Linked DNA regions of Homo sapiens: all the other regions are linked to region 3. Evidence: promoter capture Hi-C in human tissues and cell types (Jung and others, 2019). All regions are on one chromosome and are shown on one strand. Each heading gives the region's core, a stretch centred on a gene start or on the middle of the fragment in contact. The rest is flanking DNA. Distances are from core to core; before and after follow the strand shown.

Region 1 (4,557 bases), core at 1,312-3,811, 290 kb before region 3:
TCCTGCAGCCTCTTGGCTTTGTATGGAAAGAGGCTGAACTGTGTCTGTGCTGAAGGAGCCCGATGCCCAGTCGTGTGGAGGCTTCTAGGGAGAATGGCGAACACAGCCTCTGATGCGTCCTAAGAATTCCAACTCCTGGTGTTTATACTAGAGTCTGGGAAGTCTCTGAGAGGCAATGTTGTTAAAGGCATCTTGGGATACATCCCTGGGTTGACACATTACCTGCTTTCTGTAAATACAGAGCAGCTTACCTTTAGTAAAATATAACTCACTCATTAATAATCAGACATTTTAAAGCTTTTAAAAAAATCATTACTAAGCATGACTATTTCATTCTAAATGCAAAATCCTGAATGGACCAGAGATCTTAATTTTTAAAAAATATAGCTGAGTATTTTAATTATAGATGTACTTGCATATTCTCAGCATACTTCATTATTTATGTAGCTGGTGAAAAAGCTTTTTAATTAAATAGCGTGCTGGCAATCCATTGTGAAATGTATAGATGCAGGTTTTCCTAGCATTATGAAGCTGAATACAGATGTTTGCCAACTTACGATGGATTTAGCCGGATGTAACCCCATTGTAACTTGAGGAGCTACTGAATGTGTATTACTTTTGCACCGTGATAAAGTAAGCTGGGCCAGGCGCAGTGGCTCACGCCTGTAATCCCAGCACTTTGGGAGGCTGAGGCGGGTGGATCACGTGGTCACGAGTTTGAAACCAGCTTCGCCAACATAGTGAAACCCCGTCTCTACTAAAAATACAAAAAATTAGCTGGGCATGGTGGGCGCCTGTAATCCCAGCTACTTGGGAGGCTGAGGCAGGAGAATCGCTTGAAGCCGGGAGGCGGTGGTTGCAGTGAGCTGAGATCGTGCCACTGCACTCCAACCTGGGTGACAATGCGAGACTCCATCTCAAAAAAAAAAAAAAAACCAAAACAAAACTGTAAGCTGAACCATTGTAAGTTGGGAACCATCTGCACACACGCACACACACACACACAACATTCTGGTGAGCACACATACTTTAATCACTATAAAATACTTGTTTCTGAATGATCTTAAAATTTGACCAAACTGTTTTTATATTGCTAACATAATAGGGTAATTTGCCACCACTCCACTTGATTGCTTATGTTTAATGTATTCAACTAATTTGGAAACATGGTAGGGTAGTGGTTCTCAACGTGTGGTCCCCATACCAGCAATACCAGCATCACCTGGGAACTCCTTAGGCAGTTTTGAGCCCCACCCCAGGCCGACTGAATCAGCAGCTCTGGGAGTTGGGCCCAGCACCCCAGGATGTACCAAGCTCTCTAGGTGATCCTGGAACAGGTTAAGGCTCGAGAGCCATGGGATGGGGATTAACTGTGGTGCTGGTAATCTTGGTTTCATCAATGGTTCTCCTGGTGACACGTGGTCACAACAAAGGCAACTGGTCCCTGCTTTTAGTTCCCCACCAAAAAAGTGCTGTGAGGATTCTTGTTTGTTTAAGGTTCAAAGATCTCAGAGCTTAGAAGAGGTCAAAAGACTCACAGTGGCTTAAATATTTTCAGCATAGTTTGCATGAAGGTTGCCCATGAATACCAGGTCTTTACTTACCAATTTTGACTAAACGTGAATATCAGGGTTCACGTTACACATAGCAATTCTTTTCTTCTTTCAAAAAACAAAAAGAAGCTCTGAAATTAGAGCTCTTACTTATTGACCGTTGGATGGCAGGCTGTAGTGGAGGCAACCTTCCAGAGATGCCCCATGCCTGGGTGAAGGCTGATGACCAGGTTCTGTTACCTTCCCGGGCTGGAGGAACCAAGGCTGGGAGGTAAAGGAACTCCCATCGGGAGGCAGTGCCAGAACTACAACTAACAACCATCTGACTCCTTGCTCTGTGCTTTGTCTTCTGAATGAACAATGCTGCTTCTTAAGTACACATAAGCCAAACTGCCTCTCAAATTGCAGCCATCTACTTTGAGTTCAGATTTGCACAGCATGACATGAATTGGGCTGCAAATTATGCAGAAAACAGCCATCACATCCATCTGTGATGTCAGAATCCTCAAGTACAATGTGACCTGTTAGTATGTAACAGAGTAGAAGGATACTGTGTCTGATTCCTTCCCTATGAAGAGTGATGAATATCCTTCCAGATGCATTTGGCCCAGTGTGAAAAGGTTAAATATGATTGAGGTAATGCCTGTGATATGCTCAAGAGCAGATTTCATATCCAAGGGTGCAGGCAATTAGATTTTTTTTAATGGTGTAGTAACTAGAGAAAGAAAACACACAAATACACTCATACCTAATGGTAAACTGAATTTATTTCCTCTTGGAAAACAATTCCAGTAATCTCCAGGTTCAGACTGCAGAGTAAACATTAATAACAGTAACATACAGGTTAGTTCAACTGATTCAAGAATTTGGCTGCGTGAAATCATTAAGGAAAACCTTGAACACTCAAAGCTTCAAATGTATCCAGGGAAAAAAAAATTCTTTGACAGTCTACATAACAACTATTGCATATATAGTGATGCTACCTGTCACATTGCAAGGCTTACAAATATATATATACGGGCCTTATCCAGCTGTGGGGTTCTGTTCTGTGAGAACATCTCTTCATGGTTTGCAAGAATCTTCAGCAATAAAAAATAGTCTTGGATTTAAGCGCTGATATACCTAAAGAGAAATTCTAGGCTTAAGTGTAAAGAAAAGGAAGTCCAACCATAGTCTCATGTATAACAGTTGTTTTTAATCTTTCTTCCTTAAAAATACTTTATCTTAAGCCATTTTGGTCATAGTCTTTTTTTTTTTTTAATCTTGCCTGAATAGGGCCCAAGTCCACTTGTCTTTATAAGACCATTTTAGTATCAGACGACATAATACATGTGCAACACTTTATATACAAGGGGTCTATCCGGTGCGCAAAAGTTCAAACACATGAACATCCAACAGTTTGATAATACAAGTTTTATGGTACAATACAATGTTTCTGAATAATATACATTAACAATGAAAGTTTCGTGCAAAGAGTAAAACATGTTCCCTTTTTGTGCCACAAAATCAATTCTCCTTGAGAGACTGTACTTGCACTAACTGCTGTGTTGGGTCATTGTATGATTCTGTAAATAACAAAAAAAAAAAAAAAAAAAAAAAAAAAAAAAAAGAGAAGAGAGGGAAAACAAACTTCAGTGATTTCATTTTCATCAGACCAAGCATATATACATGTAATTAATTCATAATGACTTGAACAGAACAATGAGTTTCTGCCCTCTGATGAATAGTGCTCATGGGTGCCCTCTAATGTTAAAAAAAATCTAATGTTTCTTCCCCAGGGGGAAACAGACCCAGAGATCTTCTGAACCTGCTGTCACCCATGAGGGCCTGGAAGGAGAGGCCAGGGCAGAAGCCTCCTTAATGTGAGATGGCTGGCTGGCACCTTGCCTTTTCTCCACCTCTGCCATGCCTTTCTATAATACCCTCCCGCCATCCATCATCTCTTCTTATTAAGATACGACCCAGTGTTCAAGGAGCAGGTAGCACTGTTTTAACAGTTTTATGGATCTGTGCGTGATTTCCATTGGTTACATATGCCTCTGTTCCAATCCCTCTGAGACTGTAACATCTTGACAACAGGGGCTCTATCTGCCCCTGAATATGGGTATGAAATGCAAGAGTTAGCTGGCTGATGATGGACAGTGGGAGCAGCCCCCCTCCTGAGGGTGGGCTTTGGGCTGTGGTCATACCGTGGCTCAGGGGCAGATTACAGTAGCCCGCCAGGTCTCCCCTTGTCCCCGGATGCTCTTTCTCAGCTGACACAGCCTGTGCTGTATATTGGTGGTCCCTGCTCATCTATGCTAGCATGTCCCCTTTCTGAGTGAACACTCTCTTTCCAAATTGTGAGAGGGTAACTGGGATTGCTGGGCAACTCAGGACCACCAGCCAGGCCCTGAGGGTGGACGCCGGGTGGGAAAGTTGAGCTGAACCTCTGGTCATTCAGCCTGTATTCAGGGAGCAGGCAGTTTGCTAGTTGCTGTAAAGGATGAAGAGATAACCTGGTTCGCCAGGAACCAGGCCTGGATGATGGTCACAGATCTGCAGGATATTTGCCTGGAGCATAAGCCTGGAGATGGCCTGATCTCCACTCTCCTCCTCTGTGCTTTCCTGGAGCCATGTTCTCTCACTACTCACTTGTATCCCCTGACCCCAATCCCTTTGTATTACAACCTTGGGGCCCAGCTCAAAATATCACCACTTCCATCCTCACCCCATCTAACACTGATCTCTCCCTTCTCTGATTTCCTGCTGCACTTTATACTGCTTACATAGGATGCATCTTAGGTCTTGTCTCATGATTATTTGTAGGCCTGGCTCTCACTCATGCCAATAATTCCGATGTTCATTCATTTATTCATTCATCTACAAGCATCTATTGAAAACGCACATCAGCACCTGGCACATGCCAGAGCGCTGCAGTGCTCAGGAAAGAGGGTTTGGCTATCTCAGTGACTGGCTGGCAAGGCAAGGGCTACTGGAGAGGAAGGGCATGGTCCTTGCCTTC
Region 2 (4,656 bases), core at 192-2,691, 290 kb after region 3:
CCAGCACTTGGGGAAGCTGAGGCGGGTGAATCTCCTGAACTCAGGAGGAGACCAGCCTGGGGCAACATGGTGAAATCCTGTCTCTACCAAAAATACAAAAAAATTAGCCGCACTTGGTCCCAGCTACTCAGCAGGCTGAGGTGAGAGGATCATTTGAGCCTGGGAGGCAGAGGTTGCAGTGAGCCAAGATCACGCTACTGCACTCCAACCTGGGTGACTGAGTGAGACCCCATCTCAAAAAACAAACAAAAAACCCCCAAAATTGGTATTTCTTTTTTTATAATCTTTGTCCATTTATTGTTATTCTTTTCTTAATAAAAAATAGATTTTAAACAACTGTAGGGTCGTATTTATTATTTCTAGAACAAGTGTCAGATGAATAATGTAGGTTTCCGGGTCTGCTTAGGTCTGCTAAGTCTGCCTTGATAAATAAATAGCAGGGAATATGGATCCACCACTAGATAAGGAGTCTCCATACTACTACTATTGAAAAAATCCTAATCATCTGAATAAATGGAGAGAGATACATATTCATTGATGAAATGACTTAACAGTAAAAGATGTCAGTCCTCCCTAATCTCCACATGCAATGCAATTCCAATAAAAATTCTAAGCAGAATTAGTTTTAAAGGAATTCTATGAATTCATCCTGCAATGTTGTGGAAGAATACAAGTGTACAAATAGCCAAGTCAATTTTGAAAAAGAGGAGCAAAGAAAAAGAATCATGTTCTATCATAGAGCAATGTATCCAAAAAGCTTTAGTAAGAAAAACAATATGGCAATTAAAAAACCTTCAAGAGAACATAAAAGATCTCAGAAAAATAGGAAAGTGGCATACTGCTTAGAAAATGATATAGGGGAAACTCTATGGAGAAAAACAGTATTGAATTTCTATATACACCATATTAAAAGTGGATGCCAGATGGAATAAAGACCTAAATAAGAAAGGTAAAATAAAAATGGAAATACTTTGATACTGCTGTTGAGATTATAAATTAGTACAGTAAAATCAGTAAATTAATATAGCCGCTATGGAAAACAGCATAGGGATATTTAAAAAAGAAAACAAAAATAGAATTACCATATGATCCAGCAATCCCACTCTTGAATATTTACCCAAAAGATTTGAAATCGGTTTGTTGAAGAGATGTCTGAACTCCCATGTTTATTGCAGCACTATTCATACAGTAGCCAAGATATGGAATCAACCTAAGTTTCCAACAATGGATGAATGAATTTTTAAAATGTGGTATTTATACACAATGGAATATCATTCAGCCTTACAAAAGGAAAGAAGTTCTGTCATCTGTGACAACATGAATGGAATTGGAGAACATTATGCTAAGTGAAATGTCAGGCTCAGAATAACAAATATTGCATGTTCACACTTACATGTGGAATCTAAAACAATTGAATTCCTAGGAGCGAAGAGCAGAATGGTAATGATAGTCAAGGGAGTGGAGGGATGGGGAGAGGATGGTCAAAAGGCAAAAAATCTCAAACAGAAGGAATGTTTTTTTCTTTTTTGAGTTTTATCACACACTGTGGTGAATATTTGAGGCGATGGATATATTAACTAGCTTGATTTAATTATTCCACATTATATTCCTAAATTATGCCATCATTTATTTCTCCATAAATTTACGTAATTATAAGGGTTTTATCAATTTACAATTTTTAAATCCTCTAGAATTAAAAATAAATAAGGCCAATAGAATAACATGTTCAGGGCATGCTTGAAACTTTCTAAAATACATACCTAAATAAAAAACGTGTCTAGCTGTCTATAAAATAAAGGGCATTATAGGCAAACTTAATGGACAGATCGTGGTTTTGGGGAACATATTTGCAACTTCTAAAATGGAACCAGGATTGATATTTATTAAGAGACTACCTACAAACTCCCGGAAATTAATGAGAAAAGGTAGAAAACACAGTAGAAAATGAAGTGGAGGACAATTATTATGCAGTTCACAGCAGGGAAAACCTACATGGCTATCGAGTTGTTGTAGGTCAGGTTTCCTGGAAGGGAGACTGGGCAATGAAAATTATAATGAAGGAAGTTTGTTAAGAAGTGCTTTCAGGATCAACACCTATTGCTATGGTTTGGATGTGTTTTGTTTGTCCTCACCAAATGTCATGTTGAAATTTAACCTGCAGTGTGGTGGTGTTGGGAGGTGGGGCCTAGCGAGAGGTGTTTGGGTCATGAGGGTGCATCTCTTATGAATGGCTCAGTGCCATTCTTGCAGTTGTGAGTGAATTTTCGCTCTCATGAGATTGGATTGGTTCTGGGGAATAGATTAGTTTCTGTTAGAGTGGTTTGTTATAAAGCCAAGACGCCCCTCAGGTTTGGCTCCTGTTTGGATAGGACTACTTCCCCTTTGACCTTCAACATGTTTTGCCTCAGCTTTTGTGCCAGAAGTCGAGCAGATGCCAGCATCGTGCTTCTTGTAAAGCCTCCAGAACCATGAGCTAAATAAACCTCTTTTCTTTGTAAATGATCCAGCCTCAGGTATTCCTTTATAGCAACACAAAATAGACTAAGACACCTTTGGAAGAAGAAAAGGAAGAAGGTATGGGCCAAGGGAGAAGTTGGTCTGTGATGCAGTCTCAACAAAGGATCTAAGGGGAGCTCCAATTTGGAATAGTGTGGCAGATTCTATTTTCCTAAAACACCTGCCATAACATCTTCTATACTACATGCTGTTCTTACAATGTGACTGTGACACTCCTCCTATAAAAAAGGAAGGTCTATATCTACTTTCCTTAGAACAGGATAAGTTTTCTTGATTATTTCAACCAACAGAAAATAACAAAAGCAATGCTATGTGGCTTTAAAGGCCATAGAGCCTCTGAGTTGTTTGCTTATTCTTGAAGTATTCTGCTGTCATAGAAGCAATCTGACTGGCCTGAGACCACCATGCTATGAGAAAGACCAAACTAGCTCATATGGAAATACCAGACTAGCACATGGCAAGGCCCTGAGATTACATAAAGAGAGAGATGCCTAGCCAACCTTCAGCTGATTTGGCTCTCTGTTACTTTAGCTCTAACCATTATTTGGCAGAAACCACATGAGAAACCCTAAGCCACAACTTCTTAGCTGATTTCTTTCCAAATTACTGACTCACATAAACCTTGCAAAATAATAAAATGATTCTTGTTAAGTCACTAAGTTTCTGGGTGATTTAATATGCATCAATAGATCACTGAAACACATGGCTCTTCAGAATTTGGGCAAAAGATCTCTATTTTATGTGCCTACATCTACCCATCATTGAATAAGGACTGATCTGAAATTCAGGAGTGACGTTGGGCAAGGTGGCTTTCTTCAACCTAGGGCAATTCTCAAAAAGTGTTGATATCTGAGGACTGTCAATCAGCAAAATTCCCAGAAACTTAGGGTGTTTCAGTGTTGAGGCAGGATCTGGATGGCATATCACAGCCTCCATCACAGTCCACCACTTGTACCACTTAGATCACTTCTTTTTACAAGTTCTGCGAGCACTTCAAGATGCTAGCGGGCCTCTTTCCTGTGAGAAACTTAGATGAGGAAGGTAAGTGGCATGACCCACAGCCTCTGCTGCTGCAGTTTGTCTTAAGGCCCCAGCTGATTTTCATCCCTCTCCTTCTTTATCATTTATTCTAGACTCCCCACACCTTCAGTTAGCACATCTCCTGGTCTAAGTGACTTATCTGATGGGGTGACCCAGATCCTCATCACTGAAGAGTCCAACTCTTGGTCACCAAGGTTTTCTGTGGCAGCTATAATTATCCATTTAAATCAAAGTTGGGCAAGGGAATACTAAGACACCAAAGTGGAACTTATGGGTGATAAATACATTTTTCCTACTGTATTCTGTAGAAGAAGCCCTAACTCCTCCTGAATCACAGTCAGTTGGTCTAATGTGACTTTATGTGGGATGCCATGTTGGTGAATAGAACATTCTGTAAATCCTCAGATAGTGGTGCTGGCAAAGGCTATGAGAGAAGAAAAGAATATCTGTCTATTCCAGTGAAAAATAATTGATGTCCCTCTCAAGGTGAATGGTTTCAAGATACTCAAACTGCCATCAAATTGTTCTTCAAGAGATAGTGTCAAATTGGGGTGTGGGTTCAGGGTTGCTTTCTGTTGATGGCAGCTCAAACTTTCAGCAGTGACAGTAGCTAGATAGTAGACAGTAGCTAGATAGGCCATAGTGAGTAGGAACCCATGCATAGCTTCCATCCCTGTCACCATGGTGATTTTATTCCTGTGTCCACTGTGCCAGACACTTGAATAGCCAATGGCGCATGCTAGTTTATATCACCTGACCAAGTTATTGTGTCAACTTGGCTGTGCAGTGCTTCTTTCATGGTAGATGTTCTCTGGTAGACATTATCATATTGCAAGATTTTCACATTTCATACTTATTCCCGTACATCAATGCATATGCATCTAACCCAGACCATGTTTTTACAGACCTTCCAATCATTCTCTTTCAGGTCCCCAATGAACTGGCCAGGTCATTTTCTATTGCCGTAAGTCCATACATACTTGAACCTTGGTCCACTTATTTTCCTACATAAAGAATATGACCAGGTGTACCACCCAAAATGTAGCCTATTTGTAGTATTTCCCCTCACTACTACATTTGAAGGCCATCTGTGGTTGG
Region 3 (4,768 bases), core at 170-2,669:
ACTCCACCTAGGGGCTCAGCGGGGAGGGGAGCGCGCGCGCCCCCGCACTCACACTCACACTCACGCGCGCACACGCCTCGCAGCCACGCAGCCCTCGCTCCGCTACCCACAGTGACACTCGCGGATGGGGGAAAGCGGGGAGCAGGGGGTTCCTCCTTACCTTTGAGGGATCTCGGTTTCGCTTGCTTGCGGCGAGACATCCTAAAAGCAAACAGCTGAAGTTGTTTCAATTCAGCCCTGAAAGAAACTATACTTCCTCGTGGCCGCGCGCCCCTCGGGCCGCGGCGCCTCGCGCCCTCCGCTCGGCCTCCCTCGCGCCCTCGCTCCGCGCTCCGCTCCTCGCTCCGGCTCCGGCTCGCGCTCGCGCGCGGGGCTCGCGGCTGCCCGAGCTCCGCGCTCTGCACGACGGCGGCGGCGGCGGCGGCGGCTGCTGCACCAAACTTTCCCAGCCTTCGACCCCCACCCCCAATCTCCAAGAAAAAAAAAAAAAAAGGAAAAAGAAAAAAGGAAAGGAGGGAAAAAAAGCTAAAAAAAAAACCCCAAAGACAATGTTTGAAGAGCCGTCAGCTACACTAAAAAGAGAAAATCCGTTACTATTTCCACCTCAATCAAAATTCACATAGTTCATGCGAATAGAAAAAAACTAATAAAAAGAAAAGCGTCTGGGTGATTTTTTTTTTCTTTACCGCTTTTCCTTTTCAACAAATCCGCCCCCCCCCCCACCGGAAAAAAACAAATAACACTGATTTGTTTACAAAGCGAGTCGTGCTCTTTTGTAGTTGGGGGGACGAGGGGGGGAAATCGACCCTGCAAGGCGATGAAAAGGTCTTGGAAAGAAAAATCTCCCACCATCCGAGGCAGATGCGAACGGGCCACGAAAATAAGCAAAGGGAAAAAAATACTTTTTTTCTCCCTTCCCCCCACCCTTTTTTTCTTAACCCACACTAAAGTAATTTCTTTCAAAAAGAAAAAGCCAAAGCACCCGAGCCGACGGCCCCCAGGTGGTGTGCGGGGCTGCTTGTGTGCAGGGGGTGTGCGGGGCCCGGGCTCGGGGCGCCCCTCTCTGGGCGGGGGCGCGGCGCCGGCGGCTGGCGCTGGACCGGGGCTCTAAAGTCTACGGCTGCCTCGGCAGCGGCGGCGGCAGCAGCGGCGGCAGCGGCGGCGGCAGCGGCGGCGAGAGCAGGAGGAGGAGGAGGAGGAGAGCCGGGAGCAGGAGGAGGAGAAGGAGTGTGCTGTGTGCTCCCTCCTCATCACAAACCTGCAAGGTCTTGGACTGCGCTGTCGCTCCGGTAGTCCACATAATAATGGAAAATGGAAGCAAGGCCCCCAAAGCCATCAGGATGGCTCCAGAGGGGGCCCCTAACCCGCAGGGACTCGCTCTGTACGTAATCACTGAGGAAATCATTGTCAGCCTGCCTGCACTCACACACAGACAGAGGGGCATGATTAAAAGGCGAGAGCGCGGGGAGCGGGAGGGAGGAGGGGGCCCGCCAAGACCCGGACTGGAGGCGCCGGCCGCGGCGCGCGGATCCGGAGCCAGGCGGCGGCCGAGCGCCCCGAGCCCCGCCCGCCGCCGCCGCCGCCGCCGCCGCCTCCCACGCGCCGCGCGCCCCGCCCGCTCCTGCGCCGCCGCCCCTCGCGCCGCCCGCCCGGCCGCTCGCACACCCCGCGCCGCCGCCGTCGCCGCCGCCGCAGCTGCGTTATTAGAGCTCCACGGCGGATCTCGGGGCTCTTCTGCTCGCTTTTTTTCCTCTTCAGAAATTAAAGCAGAGGAGCATCTGAAAGTGGAAAGGTCCCCCTTCTGGTAGGATGGATGTAAAAGGAGGCAACAATTTGTTCTTGAGGGGGCAAAAAAAAAAAAAAAAAAAAAGAAAAAGAAAAAGAAAAAGAAAGGAGGGGGGAAATTCATTGCTTGGCTTTTGCATTGTCGGACTTTAAAAAAGTGTGTCTGCTGTTGTTGCCCGGACTCGGGAAATCTTTTTTATGGCAACCGCAGACCTGCCAAGTCTCTCTTACTTGGAATCTTTATAAAGGCAAGTTATTTGGACTTTTTTTTTATTTTCTCGTTTAGAGAAAGTCATTGATGCTGACGAATGTCATAATGTGATTCAAAAGAGACAGCTTTGAGTTCACTTTTTTAACATTCTCAAATTGACATAGATCTTTGTCCAGAAAATAAAGCTTTCTGTTGATTTTTTCTTTAAGCAAGAGGTAAGGAAATATGCACTTAAGAATATGTGTACAAGAAAATAGTTTCTAAAATAAATTGAAATGTCTGCAGGTCGGTGGGAATTTTTGTTTCTTTTCGCAGTTTTGTTTTCTAACTTTTCACCTGCTCCCATCGCAAAACAAGAAACCATCACCTGTTTCCTTCTTTTACCTTATCTTAAGGGAAAGGATGTTTTAGTATTATTATTGTTGTTGCTATTTATTGATTGGACACGCTTGTCAAGTTATAAATGCCTGAGAGGGCTACCAAGTAGAGCTTAGATTCACAAGTCTTGGTGGAAATTAAGAGATTCAGAATACGGTTAATTACACAAAACAGGCAGAATTTTGTACAAATACTATTGTTCTTAATCAGATTTTAAAAATTCTCCGTTCTGTAAAATTAAGGTACAGCTATCTATTAAGCCACCATGCAAAGACATCAAAGCTTTAAGGAAGTTGTATTTTTTCCAGTCTAACCTGTAAACTGCCTGGACCCTCATGTGGATAGCTGCAAATACAGTATGTTTTTTTTCAATATCTTCATTATAATTAAATGAGTTTTCAATCCATCTGCAGTAATTCCTAAAGTGAAATCATAGTTGTAGTCAAATTTAACTTTGCATGACTGTGAAATAAAGCAACTTTTGTTGCAGAATCTGTGTTGGTACATTAAGGATTCTAGATTTTATACATAACCTTATACATTCATTTTCACAGAAATCATTCAGAAAGGGAAAAATGTGTAAACACCAAGTTTTTACAAGACTTTCCTTTCGTGTGGTAGCCATATGTGTGCAGAATACTATGGTGCCATGTATGTGTGGTCCCAAGTTATGTGTGATATTATCTAAAATATTGATGGCATCTAATCCTGGTTTTATTGGAAAGTGAAAAATTGCTAACGTAATACTAACGCGTACCCTAATTTGTTAAAGTTTTCTATATGGGTTGATTTTTTTTGTTTCTTTCTCAAAGTAGTCTACTTTGCTTTACTCTAAAATTGTTCTTTCATTTCCCAATGTTAGTATTTCTGTTGCCTTCCTCTATTAAGAGATAAATAAAACCCTTAGCTCAGAGATTTAGATCTGGCTCAAGAGCCTGATATTTCAGTTTGGGATAGTACTGCATAGCATTTTAAGGGAGGTTAAAGCACCAACCACCCAAAAGACAAACATAAAAACTATTTTAACCTAAATCTGTCAAATATTGACCTATACAGATAGGTAAAATGCTTTTGAAACGTATCTTTAAATACTTTAATTTCCTCCCCCCAAGTTACCAAGGGGGGGAAGATCATTGATTATGTTTCTAAACATAAACCCCAACATCCACCCATGAAGCCAAAGCCATCATCTCTGAGCAGAATGCAGCAACTTTGTGAATATTTGGATGCTGTTGTTGATGATGGGGTAATAATGCATAAAGAACCATGTGCAAGGAATTTTACTAAAGACAAGACAAATATTTTCTTAGGTCTCATTAAGGGGTCTTGAAGTCCAAGATAAAACATCACCCATTCTACCTTTTGGAGGGACAGATCTGGTAGGCAAAACTCCCACTGATTTCAGCATCCCTTACCACCGTATTCCATGTGAATTAATCAATTATGTGGAATTGGTGAGCACTTGGATTTCATTAAACACTGCTGAGTAGCCTCGCAATTACTTTCCATGCTTCGTATATAAACAGACACCAAAAATGTAAACTGTCCAATTCACCTGATAGAGGCTACACAGATGCTAAAGAAGGAAAACTAAGATTTGTCTTTCTTTGGACGATGCGAAAAAGCATAATTAGCCACTGCAGAAAGGTAAACATGCCTAACTGATAAACATTTTTTCATGCTTAACAAAATTCATTTTGGGAATAGTAAACTACTATATATTCAGTTATTTATCCCCCAACTTTTAAATGTATTATTCTCATTCTTAAAACTGGAAACCAGCTACAATGAGAACGTCATTCATTTTCATTCAACAGTTTTTTGAACATCATCATCCAACAAATTGTGCTGTCCTCCAAATAACCTATTTAACATCTCCTGAATAACCAGCAAAAACATATAAAGCTTATAAATTTTAGGTATTATTTACAAATAACCTGAATAGTAGTATAAAGTTTAAAATGAGACAGACCCTTCATTACCGAGTTCTATTAAGAACTTAAGTAGCTACATAATTAAACTTTCCATTTCGTATTAACATATGATTGATTTAACTTCTGGCTCTTTTCATGCATTGACTCCACAGCACCTACTTTTAAGATATTTTGCACTTTTCAGAATGTCTTGCATTGGTGAAACAAACAATATCTGGAACTGAGACTCTTACTTGAAAAAAAGATTAACGTTTTTTCAACTGTTAATTCCAACAATAAAGATATTGCTAAAGGAGGGATTAATGTTAAAGGAAACCTGTGTCCATGAAACTTGACCTCAAAGGAATTAATTACAGAAAACACATTAGGTACCAGTTCAAGTAAATCTCCAATTTTAAAATGTCAGTTGCAAAGCATAAATTGTCTTTGATAAGTTATAAGTAATAGTGTCAAAGTTGCA

The links. Contacts are between HindIII fragments. The study calls those that stand out against the background at their distance.
Region 1: a fragment that was not itself captured here is called in contact with the fragment with the promoter of ZNF521 in region 3 in 7 of the 25 tissues and cell types used here (H1 embryonic stem cells, IMR-90 fibroblasts, aorta and 4 more).
Region 2: a fragment that was not itself captured here is called in contact with the fragment with the promoter of ZNF521 in region 3 in 1 of the 25 tissues and cell types used here (mesendoderm cells).

What each region holds. Positions count from the first base shown.
Region 1 is chr18:25,059,624-25,064,180 of GRCh38, forward strand. It overlaps ZNF521 (zinc finger protein 521), which reads right to left. Exons shown (of 8, transcript NM_015461.3): 8 at 2,301-3,118. The coding sequence ends at 3,089. Among named protein-coding and RNA genes, the nearest start is that of LINC01894, 74 kb to the left of the region's middle. The HindIII fragment of the contact is 5,713 bases long and covers 1-4,557 here.
Region 2 is chr18:25,644,102-25,648,757 of GRCh38, forward strand. No RefSeq gene overlaps it. Among named protein-coding and RNA genes, the nearest start is that of ZNF521, 290 kb to the left of the region's middle. The HindIII fragment of the contact is 6,660 bases long and covers 1-4,656 here.
Region 3 is chr18:25,350,747-25,355,514 of GRCh38, forward strand. It overlaps ZNF521 (zinc finger protein 521), which reads right to left and starts at 1,420. Exons shown (of 8, transcript NM_015461.3): 1 at 1,259-1,420; 2 at 161-201. The coding sequence starts at 200. RefSeq lists a silencer at 1,446-1,515. The HindIII fragment of the contact is 6,455 bases long and covers 1-2,418 here.